4 separate regions of the Homo sapiens genome follow, and all the other regions are linked to region 1. The links are contacts of gene promoters, found by promoter capture Hi-C in blood cells and fetal thymus (Javierre and others, 2016). All regions are on one chromosome and are shown on one strand. The core of a region is centred on a gene start or on the middle of the fragment in contact, and the rest is flanking DNA. Distances in the headings are between cores, read along the strand shown.

The links. Contacts are between HindIII fragments. The CHiCAGO score rates a contact against its expected background, and 5 or more counts as called.
Region 2: a fragment that was not itself captured here is called in contact with the fragment with the promoter of CERS6-AS1 in region 1 in 1 of 17 cell types (total CD4 T cells); the score reaches 6.6 in total CD4 T cells.
Region 3: a fragment that was not itself captured here is called in contact with the fragment with the promoter of CERS6-AS1 in region 1 in 1 of 17 cell types (total CD4 T cells); the score reaches 5.1 in total CD4 T cells.
Region 4: a fragment that was not itself captured here is called in contact with the fragment with the promoter of CERS6-AS1 in region 1 in 1 of 17 cell types (activated CD4 T cells); the score reaches 5.7 in activated CD4 T cells.

The regions. Positions count from the first base shown.
Region 1 is chr2:168,784,937-168,788,226 of GRCh38, reverse strand. CERS6-AS1 (CERS6 antisense RNA 1) reads left to right here and starts at 1,798. Exons shown (of 3, transcript NR_045787.1): 1 at 1,798-1,870. It also overlaps a transcript of NOSTRIN not described here. The HindIII fragment of the contact is 3,155 bases long and covers 288-3,290 here.
Region 2 is chr2:168,143,022-168,146,311 of GRCh38, reverse strand. The region is part of intron 5 of STK39 (serine/threonine kinase 39); the gene reads left to right. Among named protein-coding and RNA genes, the nearest start is that of STK39, 100 kb to the left of the region's middle. The HindIII fragment of the contact is 7,322 bases long and covers 1-3,290 here.
Region 3 is chr2:168,167,465-168,170,754 of GRCh38, reverse strand. The region is part of intron 2 of STK39 (serine/threonine kinase 39); the gene reads left to right. Among named protein-coding and RNA genes, the nearest start is that of STK39, 78 kb to the left of the region's middle. The HindIII fragment of the contact is 1,902 bases long and covers 506-2,407 here.
Region 4 is chr2:168,208,755-168,212,044 of GRCh38, reverse strand. All of the region lies in intron 1 of STK39 (serine/threonine kinase 39), which reads left to right. LOC124906088 (a long non-coding RNA gene) reads right to left here and starts at 595. Exons shown (of 2, transcript XR_007087283.1): 1 at 513-595; 2 at 1-46. RefSeq lists an enhancer at 26-1,225. The HindIII fragment of the contact is 3,118 bases long and covers 1-3,032 here.

The DNA of each region.
Region 1 (3,290 bases), core at 549-3,048:
CTCTGTCACTCTGGCTGGAGTGCAAGTGGCACCATCATAGCTCACTGCAGCCTTGAACTCCTGGGCTCAAGCATTTCTCCTGCCTTGGCCTCCCAATGTGCTTGAATTACAGGTATAAACCACCAAGCCTGGCTGTCATCGTTACTATTTACATCATTTTTTTTTTCTTATCACTTACCTTTCTTATCACTATTTTCTTTGCTGATTTATCTTCTTCTTCTCATCCCCCAAACATGGGTATTTCTCAAGGTTCTGCTTTGGCAGGCAGTGCAGAACAGATCAAAGCTTGGACTAAGTTCTTTGCATCACCACTTTCTGGCTGTAAGACCAAGGACAAAGTTTTTACCCTCTTGTGCTTCAGTTTATCTGAAAAAAATTAAAAAAAATGAAAATCACAACAGCCTCCAGTTTCAGTCTTCTACTTCCAATTTTTGTTAGACATGTCCACATGAAAGGACTCTCATCAGCTTAAATTCAAAATGTAAAAATCAACCCATTTTTCCTTTCCAAAAACTGAGGCATCTTCTCACAGCTCCTCTTTCTGTAAATGCATATTCATTCTACAGGAATTTATTGGGCACCTGCTGTGTAGTGGACACTGTGGCTGATAAGGATCAGCTATAAAAGGTAAGGCCTTTGCCCTCAAGATGCTTCCATTGAGTCCAGTGGGGAAGGCCGTGTGATAAGTGTTCTGATGGAGTTAAATGGTTGTACCTTTTCTTCTCAAGGAAGAGCACCAAATTCCCAAAGGCTAAGGCTTTCTGGGAAGACTAACTTCTAACACAAATTAGTCTTCAAGGCCAAGTAAGAGTTAGCGACATGAAGAAGAAGAGGAAAGAGGTCTCTGTGGCAGTGTAAGCAGTATGGCCAGAGTCCTGGAGCTGTCACAGGCATGGCACATTCTGAGACAGTGCCCATGGGGAGGGATGAGGATGGAGTGGAAGGTCAAGGTCAGGCCACTAAGGGGGAGAACAGGTGGTAGGAAGTGGGGTGGAGGCTGCCTCACTGCTTCACGCTATGCCCTTTGTCTCAAATGCCTTTCCTCTTTCCACTTGACTCATTCAAATACTATTCATTCTTCCTAGCTTTCTGCTTGAAACCTTTTCTTACCTGATCCCAGAAGCAGCTGTTACGAGCAGCGAATCCTTATGGGTCCGCAGCGAACTCAATTCTTAGCTCCTTAGAAGAAAGAATTTGGGGCCGGGTGTGGTGGCTCACGCCTGTAATCCCAGAACTTTGGAAGGTTGAGGCAGGTGGATCACTTGAGGTCAGGCATTCGAGACCAGCCTGAACAACATGGTGAAACCCCGTCTCTACTAAAAATACAAAAAATTAGCCAGGTGTGATGGCGGGCGCCTGTAGTCCCAGCTACTCTGGAGGAGGGGGGAGGCAGGGAAGAATTTGACCGAGGAAAAATAAGGCAGACTGAGAGACTGAGGCAAGTTTTAGAGCAAGAGTGAAAGTTTACTAAAAGGTTTTAGGGCAGGAACGAAAGGAAGTAAAGTACACTTCGAGGAGGGCCAAGCTGGCCACTTGAGGGATCAAGTGGCTGGCTTGACCTTTGCCTTAGGGTTTTATATATTGGCATACCTCTGGGATCTTGCATCCCTTTTCTCCTGATTCTTCCCTTCTGGTGGGCTGTCTGCATGCCCAGTGCCCTACCAGTGCTTGGGAAGGGCTGCATGCGCAGTGTGTTTACGGGAGTTATACGCATGCTCACTTGAGACGTTCTTCTATTACCAATCTAACGTTCCTAGAGGAAGGTCATATACCAGTTAAACTCCCCCATTTTGCCTCATAGTGCGCATGCTTGAGCCCACTTACCTAACACCTGAGATCTTATTGGGACGCTGCTGATAACCAGTTTCAGGTTTTTTCTGTCTGTCGGGAGATTGCCTTTCCCTCGTGCTGGCTGTGACTAATTATTGTTTTAGAGAAATAATGATTGTAACAGTGTAACAACCACCTGACCATCACTTGATGGTCGTCTGACATTCCTGGTTGGGCGTGCAGCCCTCTCCTGGCCTGCTGATGTCTGCCTGACTACTATAACACAACCTCTCTCTCCTCTGAACTTTTCTGGCAATTACTATTCTCACAACATATTTGATATAACGATGATACCAATGTCTTATATCTATAGATTTTATTTTTATTTTTAAAAGCCTTTTGCTGGCCGTGTGCAGTGGCTTATGCCTGTAATCCTAGCACTTTGGGAGGCCGAGGCAGGTGGATCACTTGAGGCCAGGAGTTCAAGACCAGCCTGGCCAATATGGTGAAACCCCATCTCTACTAAAAATACAAAAAAATTAGCTGGGTGTGGTGGCATGCACCTGTAATTCCAGCTACTCAGGAGGCTGAGGCACGAGAATCACTTGAACCTGGGAGGCAGAGGTTGCAGTGAGCTGAGATCCCGTGCCACTGCACTCCAGCCTGGGCAACAGAGTGAGACTCTGTCTTAAAAAAAAAAAAAAATCTTTAGAGCTAATAACTTCTGCCTGTGGCCTACCTCCCTAACTGTATTGAGACCCCCTTCAATGCAGCAGCTTTGCCCCTGACTTCCTCATACTCCTCACAAAGCCTAACATAATGTCTCGAACGATTGGTGCTCAATACATTTATTGACTTAATGTTGATGTGCATTTTACTGCTTTCATTAGTGTTCTGGCTCTGTGGGTAAACAATTTGGTACATGTAGCATAGTGTAAACTACTGGTTAGCATAGTGCAAACTATTTTATAACTCCTCAGAAATGACTTCTAAGTGATACAACTAAGAAATGGCAGCACTAGAAGTGTAGTACATCAGGGCTCAGTTCTATGTACCATCTAGTACCCTCAGCTGAGAGAAAAACAATACTCTTTGCTCTTAAAAACTCTAGGGACCCTTTTGAACTCATCTTTGGTGACATAGCTCCAATTAGTCTGAAATCTAACATAGGATTGCTTGATGGCTTGCCAGACAGTAACTAGCACTCTGGGTCAGGAACTTTGGCCAGAGCCAAGAGTTCAGTCCTGATGAATCAAATTAACAGCTATGACTCAAAAAGAGGAGGGCTGGGAACTGCTCTTTTATTTCCTATAACTCAAGTTACAGAAAATAAACTCGCTTTGTAGCATTTCATCCCTCACCTACTACCCACCCCTGGGACTTTTTCCCTATGAGTCTTTCAGCCCATTCTTAAAACCCAGATCCCTAAAAAACTAGCGTTACTACCTAGATCGCTTCCATTCTTCAGTCTGCAATGTATTGAATGACTGAATTGCTTGTACTGGTTCTTTTTGAACCTG
Region 2 (3,290 bases), core at 311-2,810, 640 kb after region 1:
GTACTCACCCACAGCTTCCCTTACAGGTTTTAGAGAAATCAACTTTCAGACCAAATTTTGCCCTTCATTAGCAAGCAAGCCCCTAAACAGTTCTCACAATTTGTTCTGTAAGCTCAAGGAAATCCCAGTTCTTTTTCCTCATAGGTGAATGAAAAATTCATTAGAGGCAGACATGCCAAGATTCCAGATGCAGTTTTTGCTTTATCCTTATGCTTGCTACTAGGAATCCAACCATCCACAGAACTGGCTAGGGTATAGTCTACAGTTGGACTGGACTGGATTGTTTTATTCTGTTCATGCAAGAGTAAGGAGTATATCTAAAATATTTTAGCCACTCTCTGGTGCTAAGAACCTTTATTTTCAGCAGTGAAAGCCCATTTCTAACATGTATCATACCTCTCAACAGGTCACTGTTTTCCCTAATAATAACCCCTTTGGACAATCAGTCACCTGGCTTATGCTCATCTATATTTAGATTTGGATAATAGAAATACTTCCAGCAGCTGCCTCTGGCATCCTGAGTCGAGTGCTATCAGAACCCCCCCAGCACTGGACATTCTTGGTTAGAATGCCAGCTGACCACCTAGGTTGTGGTATCACAAACATAATATCACATGGCATATGTTGAAGTATTTTAGGTACATTTTAGACATCATAACCACACAGTTGGCAGACTTTAGTTTTGCGGACTAAATTAGGCAGGAGAAATCGCTTTTCTATTTTTTTAAAAATGAATTTGTTGCCAACTACAGTAAGAAAGGGAGCTTTTTCATAAAGATTCCAATGTTTGGCTTTTTTGGGAAAACTGGGATATCCAGCAATCCTGGGTCTACATTTCTCTATGGCAACTTTCTTCTGGTGCCAAGCAGCAGGGGCCTGCCTTGGACCTTGGTGGGAGGGTGCTGACAGTGGGCTCCAGGGCTTCACACAGGGCCCAGCACTCCTAAAGTCTCCCGTCACAGAGACTGAGCATCAAGGGCCCTTGTCACTGAGACTGTAGCTGTTGTTTTTCAGGACCCTCTTTTCTCCATTGTATTCCTGCCTGGCTGCTGTAGGTGTTTTGAGTTTTTGACCCTTGCAGCTGTCAGTTTTTCTTCTTGGCTCCACACTTGTGCTTTGCTCATGCCGTTTCTTTGTCTGGAATTTGTTTCCTGTTGGACTTGCTCATCCAAGTCTTCACCTCATCTTGAAGGCTGGCTCCAAGACCCACTTTGGAGATAGTCTTCTATGACCATTATGGTTATAGCTCCTCTGCTTCTACACAGACAATATAGTATTTGATTTTATACATCTTATCCTACTTAGGTGGGAATATTCTTTTTTTTTTTTTTCTGAGACGGGCTCACTCTGTTGCCTAGACTGGAGTGCAGTGGCATGATCATGGCTTACTGCGTCCTCGACCTCCTGGGCTCAAGCGATTCTCCCATTTCATCCTCCTGAGTAGCTGAAATTACAGTTGCATGCCACCGCACCCACCTAATGAACTATCATGCCCGACAAATATTGTTGAAGTCAAGAAACATGTCTTCTCCTATTTTATCTCTGCCACTGTAAAATATTTATGCTTATCCCCTCAGCCTGCTTGCCTTGCTTATGAAAAGGCAGTGAGTAGCTTATCGATCTACCTAACAGTTGTTATAAAGAATAGTCATACATGGTAAAAAAAAAAATGAGTCTTATAAATATGAAAGTAATATAGAAATTGAGGCTCGGCATGGTGGCTCATGCTTATAATTCCAGCACGTTGGGAGGCTGAGACAGGAGGATCGCTTGAGCTCAACAGTTTGAGAACACCTTGGGCAACATAGAGAGACCCCATATCTACAAAAAATAAAAATAAATTAGATGGGCATGGTAGCACATGCCTGTAGTCATAGCTGCTTGGGAGGCTGAGGTAGGAGGATCGCTTGAGCATGGGAGGTTGAGGCTGCAGTGAGCCATGATCATGCCACTATGTTCCACCTTGGGCGACAGAGCGAGACTCTGTTTCAAAAAAATAAAATAAATAAATAAAAATAGGCCTAAATAAGAAGCCCAATAAGGCCCAGAAAGTTTAAGTCCCTTTCGGGAGTCATACAGTTGGGTAATAGTCTAGCCTTAGGCCTAATCACTGTTAACACTCAGATCTTGCCCATTAGTCCTGTAATGTTTCCTAGTAGATCTGCCACTCTCCAAATCAGATAACCATACCTGCAGATCCTCCTCAAGGCTTAGTAGCATTCACACATCAAAACTAGACCATGACCAATGTTACTGAAATCAAATTACGCAAAGGTGATGAATGCACATCAAATTACTCACCAAGAGCCAGGGTGCCGGAGATGCTGTGTCATTAACAAGGTCATGCAGAAAGCCTTCTGCTGGTGCACCTGTTCAGCATGGAGGGTTGATGTACCTAGACGACAAAGCATCATGTGCAAGGGCAATGCTGGTGAGGCCAAGGAGGTGATGGGATCAGGGAATAAAAAGTAAGTCATTCAGTAGGCTGGAGCTTACTGTCTGAATCTGAGAGTAGTGATATAGGTTTACGTGTTATGCTGAAGGATTTTGACTTTTTCCTGAGGGGACAGGGAGCCTTGAAAGACTTTTTTTTTTTTTTGAGACAAAGTCTTGCTCTCTTGCCAGGCCAGAGTGGAGTGGCATGATCTCAGCTCACTGCAACCTCCGCCTCCTGGGTTCAAGCGATTCCCCCGCCTCAGCCTCCAGAGTTGCTGGGACTACAGGCGCGTGCCACCAGGCCCAGCTGATTTTTTGTATTTTTTTAGTAGAGATGGGGTTTCACCATGTTGGCCTGGATGGTCTTGAACTCCTGACCTCGTGATCCACTTGCATTGGCCTCCCAAAGTGCTGGGGTTACAGGCATGAGCCACCGCTCCTGTCCTGAAAGTCTTTTAAGGAGGGCTCAGGCCTGTGACATAGAAAGGCCTGGTTGCTGGAGCCTGGATCTGGGGAAAGAAGGGAGATGGGAACTTAGGAGGCTGCTGCAGAAATCTTAGCAAGAAGTAGTGGTGGATTAAATGAAGGCAGTGGCTGTGGAGGAGCAAAGAAGTGGATGGATTCAGAAGGTCTTAGACCCTTTTTGTTATTAGGATGACAGCATTATTTGTTGTTGTTGTTGTTTTTCTTAAAGCAGCATTTACCCATATCCTCCAGTTATTCCTGGAGGCAGGGAGATGGACTGGCTAACTTTATGTGTAGCCTTTGATTCTGTGTTTCTAGAGAAATGTCTGTGGTTTTGTACCCAAGTGAATCTGGCTGCATTCCCTTTGGCTGTATAGATGTACCCCTTA
Region 3 (3,290 bases), core at 207-2,706, 620 kb after region 1:
GCCAGACCCACTACTGGGCACTTTTGACACTGTCGGCTTCCTTGCAGTCGTCTGTGTCCCTCCTCTCACATCCCCCAACCTTCCTCTCTGCCTTCTTTCAAAGCTCAGTCTACCACTTTGCCACTCAAAGTCTGGTTTCTGGACCCACAGCATCAGCATCACATGGAAGCCTGCTAGAAATGCAGATTCTCAGGCCGCACTGCAGCCCTTCCGAATGGGAGTCTGCATCTTAGCAAATTGCTGAGGTGATCTGCATGCCCATCCAAATTAGGGAAGCACCGCTTTAACTCACGCTTCTGCCTTGGGTTGTGACCTAATTAAGAGAATAGGATGTTAGAACCCATTCATTCTGTCGAAAGAATCAGCTAAAACATTTTTATATTTTCAAATTGTTCATCTTTAGGCAATAGTTTTGTCATTTTTAGGGATAGGGACAAACAAATATGCTTGGTAATGAATGTCTTTTCCTAACCATATGAATGCGGTTAGGGCATTAGGAGAAGCTTAGATAATTTAACCAATAGATTGTTACCAAGGGAGCTTTCAAATAACACCCATCATTGTTTTGAAAAGAATGGAGGGGATAGTTTTGTGGAAAGATTTCTAGTTTTCAGGTTTTTAACTTTCTTCTATGTGGAAATATTACTTATCCTGGGGATCAGTGATAGCATAGGTCATATCTCAAGACAGAGCTACAGATGTTTCTCCCTAAGGCGAGTTTCATCATGTCCTTAAGCATTAATGCTTGTGGAAAAGCTGCTGTGCAGGACAATGGATGGTGCAGGAGTTGGGGACATGGACCCCCCTAGCCAAGAAGTGAAGAGGGATGGCTCAGCTGCATGGAAGAAGAATGTGAGGTTGAGTGATCAAACTGATGGAAAGCCACTCTTGGGCCCCCTGCCCCTTCTTTTACCTGTCCTTATACTGCTCCTGTGGTTGTGTTGGTGTGGCAGTATCTGTGACCCCTCATCCCCCACTCATTTAAATTCTGGAACCTTTTAATGTCCAGATGGTGTCTCTAAGACTCAGAGTTTTGAAGGAATAGAATTTGCTAAGTTATATCTATAGGTTCTACAGGTTTTCTAAAGGAGTTACACACACACACACACACACACACACACACGCTCACTGCAAAGTCAGAGAACCTGATACTTTGGGTGGGAAGTGATACTGGCCATCTAAATGCAAAGGGCTAAAAAGTGTGTTTTTCTAGACTGACTCAACCTTGCCTTCAATGTAAAAGAATTTCCTTTTGTATGACCATTAGTTGTTTTGTGCATTTTGATAAATTATTTAAAAGTTTGGAGTTACAGCACTAGAAAAGCATTCACTTACATTTAGAGTGCAGCTGCATTTAAGAGACATTGTTCTCGTTTCTTTGAACACTAGGCATCTGTTTAAACTGGACCCTACCTAATGCTACAGACCTTCAGTGTGGGCCATCCCCGCACTGAGCAGATGCTATTGACTTGAAATAGGAGTGGCCAGGGCAGTGTTCCATTTCTCCTTCAGAAGTGTCTTATGGCATCAGAACCTAATACCGGAAACAGATGGAAACTGAACCTCAGGTTTCAGATCTTATTCAAAGGATAAGAGTTGCTGAATTGAAAAGTGTCAGATTTAGAAAACCTGTAATCAGTCAAATGGATGAGGGGAATGATGAAGGAAAATCATTGTTATATACTGAGAAGAAAAAAGAAAAATTAGTAGTTTCTAAGGAGTTTATCTTTGGTTAAAAGCACTTCATTTTTATTATTTTTTAATTTTTTTTTGAGACAGAATCTTGCTTTGTCACTCAGGCTGGAGTCCAGTGGCACGATCTCAGCTCACTGCAACCTCCACTTCCCGGGTTTGAGTGATTCTCGTTCCTCAGCTTCCTCAGTCATTGGGACTACAGGCGCACACCACCACACTCAGCTAATTTTTTTGTAGAGACAATGTTTCTCATGTTGGCTGGGCTGGTCTTGAACTCCTGACCTCGGGTGATCCGCCTGCTGCGGCCTCCCAAAGTGTTGGGATTACATGTATGAGCCACTGCCCCCAGCCAAAAGCACTTTAAATAAACATATATGTTAAGGAACGTATGAGTGTTACATATTACAGAATTTTGGCCAAGTTGTCGGATATATAGGATCTTTTTAGTAGTATGAGGATTAGGCAGTACTGGACAAGCAAAGATAACGTCCAAATTGAGATGTTCTGCTTGGGTAACTTTGAGTTAATGTGAAGCTCATTATTATTGAATATATTCATAGGATGCATAAATGTACCCTTCTTTCATCAATACATAATGGCAAAAATGAGGTTTCTTTGATCATTTAGGTTATTCTTGTCCTTTTTATGGCACCTTGAAAGTGAGTTACACTGGTCTGGTACCTTTGATTGAGAGTTACATTAGACTGAAGCTTTTATGGGAGTCATCCGACAATAACTTAAAACGAGAAACTGAAATCAATATGAAACTGAATATTCCAGAAAAATGTGATTTATTGAAAGTTTCCTTTTGTTTTATTTCTCAGCTTTGTTGTTTTATGTCTTTATATAAAACAACAAAGAATAAAATATATTTTATTCTCTACAGCAGTGTTTCCAAGATGTGACCCACAAAGCATTCTTTTCCTGCTCTGTTAATATGGATTAAACTATGGCAGTTTATCTACTGCAGGACTTCTCAGAGCCTTTGACAGTACTAATATTCCCTGTGATTCTTTTAGAATGAGATATATTATCTGATCTTTCCCAAGCTTATTTTACTTCGCCTGCCGCTCTCTTCCCTGCCACCTCCTTTTTTTAGTTAATGGAATATCTACTGTGGCAGATAGCTGGGAAATAATACTGTAGCATTTTCAAATGTATTTTCTCATTTACCATCACAGCAGTCCTGAGAAACAGGGACAGTTTTGTTGTCGTTTTTTGGATGAGGGAGGAGCTAAGATCCACCAGAGTTCAGGCTGGCACCAGGATGCAGGTGTCCTAGTAACTCACCCAGTCTTTTATCTCCCTGTCAAGCCTTCGGTTCAGGTATGAGGCTCTTAGTCCTATGTGGCAGGGCTCTCTGCTGGCAGAGTTGGGGGGTCATCTGGGTGATAACAGTGATCTGAAGTTCCTGTGTCTGGTAGCTGGTCCACAGGGCTCTGTGGTCTCCTGTAGAGAACTTTCTAATCTGAGTTGATAATGTGGGTGAGAGAATTGGTCCTTATATACCTTCTTTGAAGTAATGGCTTAGGCAGCCCCTCAGGTAGGCTTTCGAGTAGGAAAGTTACCCAGGTACTCAACTGTGATTCACTTGT
Region 4 (3,290 bases), core at 224-2,723, 580 kb after region 1:
TTTTGGGTATTAGTTTCAACTGAGATGTCTCATTCTTTCTGTGGAACTAAAACGAATAATGATCAGTAAGTCATTTTTGAAAGTAACTGTGACAGAGTGGGGCAGTTAACCACCACCTCTCCATTCCCAGCAGCTGGTATGCACACCCTGATTATGGTATAGACTTAGTTAATAAGAGAACCAGTGAGTGTTTGTGTCAGAATTTTGCTTTCAGAACCAGGCATAGGAATTTATACATGAACGCCCTGTGCAGAAAGAGGAGGTGTTTGCACACAGCTACACTGACAGATTATTTTCCACTCTTGCACAGTGACTAGTACAGATTCCTCTCATGAGCTCCTCAGAGACGTAAGACAGGGCGTTGATGATGCTTTATCAAGTAGACAGTATGTTTGCTACCCACAACTAAGTAAAATTAAAATATAAGAATAAATTGGAAGGCAGATGCAGATATAAAGTCCCATCTTTAAGGCAGGAATACTTCCTATCATCAAATATTACCCAGAACTCACTGGTTTAGAGGTTGAAGGCACAAAGCATGGTTGAGAAGGCTGAACTCCTGGCCTGTCTCTTCACAGGGTTGGTGAACTCTGGTAAACTCTAGAACAGAAATGACCCTTATAAACAGGTGCACATATGTGGTGAGTACCTGATGAATGTGTGCTGACCAATAAATAATTACTACTACTTCCTCTTGACTCATGTGTTTGAAATGAAGAACAGTCACTCTAGTTGCAGTCTATACTTGTGTGGAGCAGGGAAGTTGAGCAATACATCCATATTTAGTAACACTCTTGAGATGAGATAGATGGGGTGGGAGAGATAACAGTCATTCTTTGCCTTTTGGGTGGATCTAAGTTAAAATATTTTTATTGTCTAGATTTATAGCTAATTAATAATTTTTTTTGCCCTAGAATATTGAGGGTGCAAGATTTTAAAGTTGGATTTAGAGGAACTGAAGTTTCAGTTTGTTCATTGTGATTACGTAAATAGAGAAAACGGACTAATACGTTATACTTTCTCTTTTTAACCATATAATGACTACTCACCATTGAAATTTTGATGAGCATTTTTTTTGCCTTATTTCAGAGAAAGACAAGTGAAATTATAATTAAGTTGTATATTATTTTGTGTAGATTGTCTCTTCTCTAGTGTTCCTGCTGAAAACAAAGAGGAGATTAAAGATTTTCCTGTTCAGATTTTAAATCCGTTATTCAAAGTTTGAGGCTGGGCGCAGTGGCTCACGTCTGTAATTTCAGCACTTAGGGAGGCTGAGGTGAGAGGATCATTTGAGGTCGGGGGTTTGAGACCAGCCTGGCTGACATGGCAAAACCACATCTGTACTAAAAATATAAAAATTAGCCGGGTGTGGTGGCAGGTGCCTGTGGTCCCAGTTCCTAGGGAGGCTGAGGCAGGAGAATCGCTTGAACCCAGGAGGCGGAGGTTGCAGGGAGCTAAGATCATGCCACTGCACTCCTGCCTGGACGACAGAGCAAGACTTCGTCTCAAAACAAAACAAAACAACAAAGTTTGATAGTTTGCTTAACTAATGGGAGTAGGTGTCTTGATGTGTGTGCAGCTTGTATGATCCAGTAACTGATAATGAAGTTTGCAACATCTCTAAGTTAGAAATTTTAATGAAACCACAACATATTTTCTTTCATAGCAATTCTCTGAGCCAGCATTTCAAGAAGGGGTGGGAAAAAAATGGTGATAAATGACCTTTGAGGTGAACTTTTGATATTTGCATTGCAATTCTTTGGGTTTACACTTTTAATTTTTAAAATTGCAGGTGATATTTGTGAAAAGTGTCAGTTTCCAATATGTTCACAGTAGTGATAGTATGACTCAAAAGAAGTAAGCACATATATGCCTATTTTATCAATGGATGTCTTCAGAGTTGGTGTGCCATTTTTGCAGCATGGGTGAGAATTGAGGTTTTTCTAATTACATGAGTTTCTTTCTTCCTTCCTTCCTTCCTTCCTTCCTTCCTTCCTTCCTTCCTTCCTTCCTTTCTTTCCTTTCTTTCCTATTTTTTTTTTTTTTTTGAGATAGAGTCTCACTTTGTCACCCAAGCTGGAATGTAATGGTGATCTTGGCTCATTGCAACCTCTGCCTCCCAGGCTCAAGCAATTCTCTTGCTTCAGCCTCCTGGATAGCTGGGATTATAGACGCCTGCCACCACGCCTGATTAGTTTTTGTATTTTTAATAGAGACTGGGTTTCACCATGTTGGCCAGGCTGGTCTCGAACTCCTGACCTTAAGTGATCTGCCTGCCTCGGCCTCCCAAACTGTTGGGATTACAGGCGTGAGCCTCCGCACCCAGCCTAATTACATTAGTTTCTTTCTTTTCGTTTGTTTCTGAGACAGAGTTTTGCTCTTGTCGCCCCAGGCTGGAGTGCAGTGGTGCGATCTCGGCTCACTCCAACCTCTGCCTCCTGGGTTCAAGTGATTCTTCTGCCCCAGCCAACCGAGTAAGTAGCTGGGATTACGGGCATGTGCCACCGTGCCCGGCTAATTTTGTATTTTTAGTAGAGATGGGGTTTCTCCATGTTGGTCAGGCTAGTCTCAAACTCCTGACCTCAGGGGATCTGCCCACCTCCGCCTCCCAAAGTGCTGGGATTACAGGCGTGAGCCACCGCGCCAGGCCTTACATTAGTTTCTTATAGTAAGAGAAAGGTTTCAAAGTTATATATATCTAAGAATACACCTACCTTCATAGTTGAGCTTTTTTCCCCAAAATACATGTTTTTCTGGTGGTCTCTGTATTTTCCATCACTTTAAAAAAATCTAACTTATTAAAAGTTATTTGATTTTGCTTAAGACTTTCATCATCATCAGTAAAAATTTATGAGACTGCTTCTGTGCATTTGCTTCCTACGGGCCTAGGGGTGCAAAGGAAAGGGGTAGAATCTAAGATTCTAGGGTTAACCAAAATCGAAGGTTTGTAGGCTTCTCTGAATTTAGGTGGAAGAAGGTGGAGAATGTGATTCTGGGTGGTATTGTGCTATCCTTGGGATAGCCACTAAGCTTGTTCTACCAGTCAGGCTGGGCTGAGCTATGGTATGGTAGCAAACAACCCCACATCACAGGAGATTAGCACAACACAAGTGTATTTCTTGCTCTTGCACTTCCCTGTGACTGTGGGAGATATCTTAAGTCAGCTGTCCTTCCTGCAGCAACTCAGTCAGCTTCAGTCTTGTGGCTCCATCCTCTGTTATCTCTAGCAGCAGGAGGGGAAGAGTCATGGGAGCACTGCTCAGGGGCTTCCCCGCCTCAGTGATGGAGAG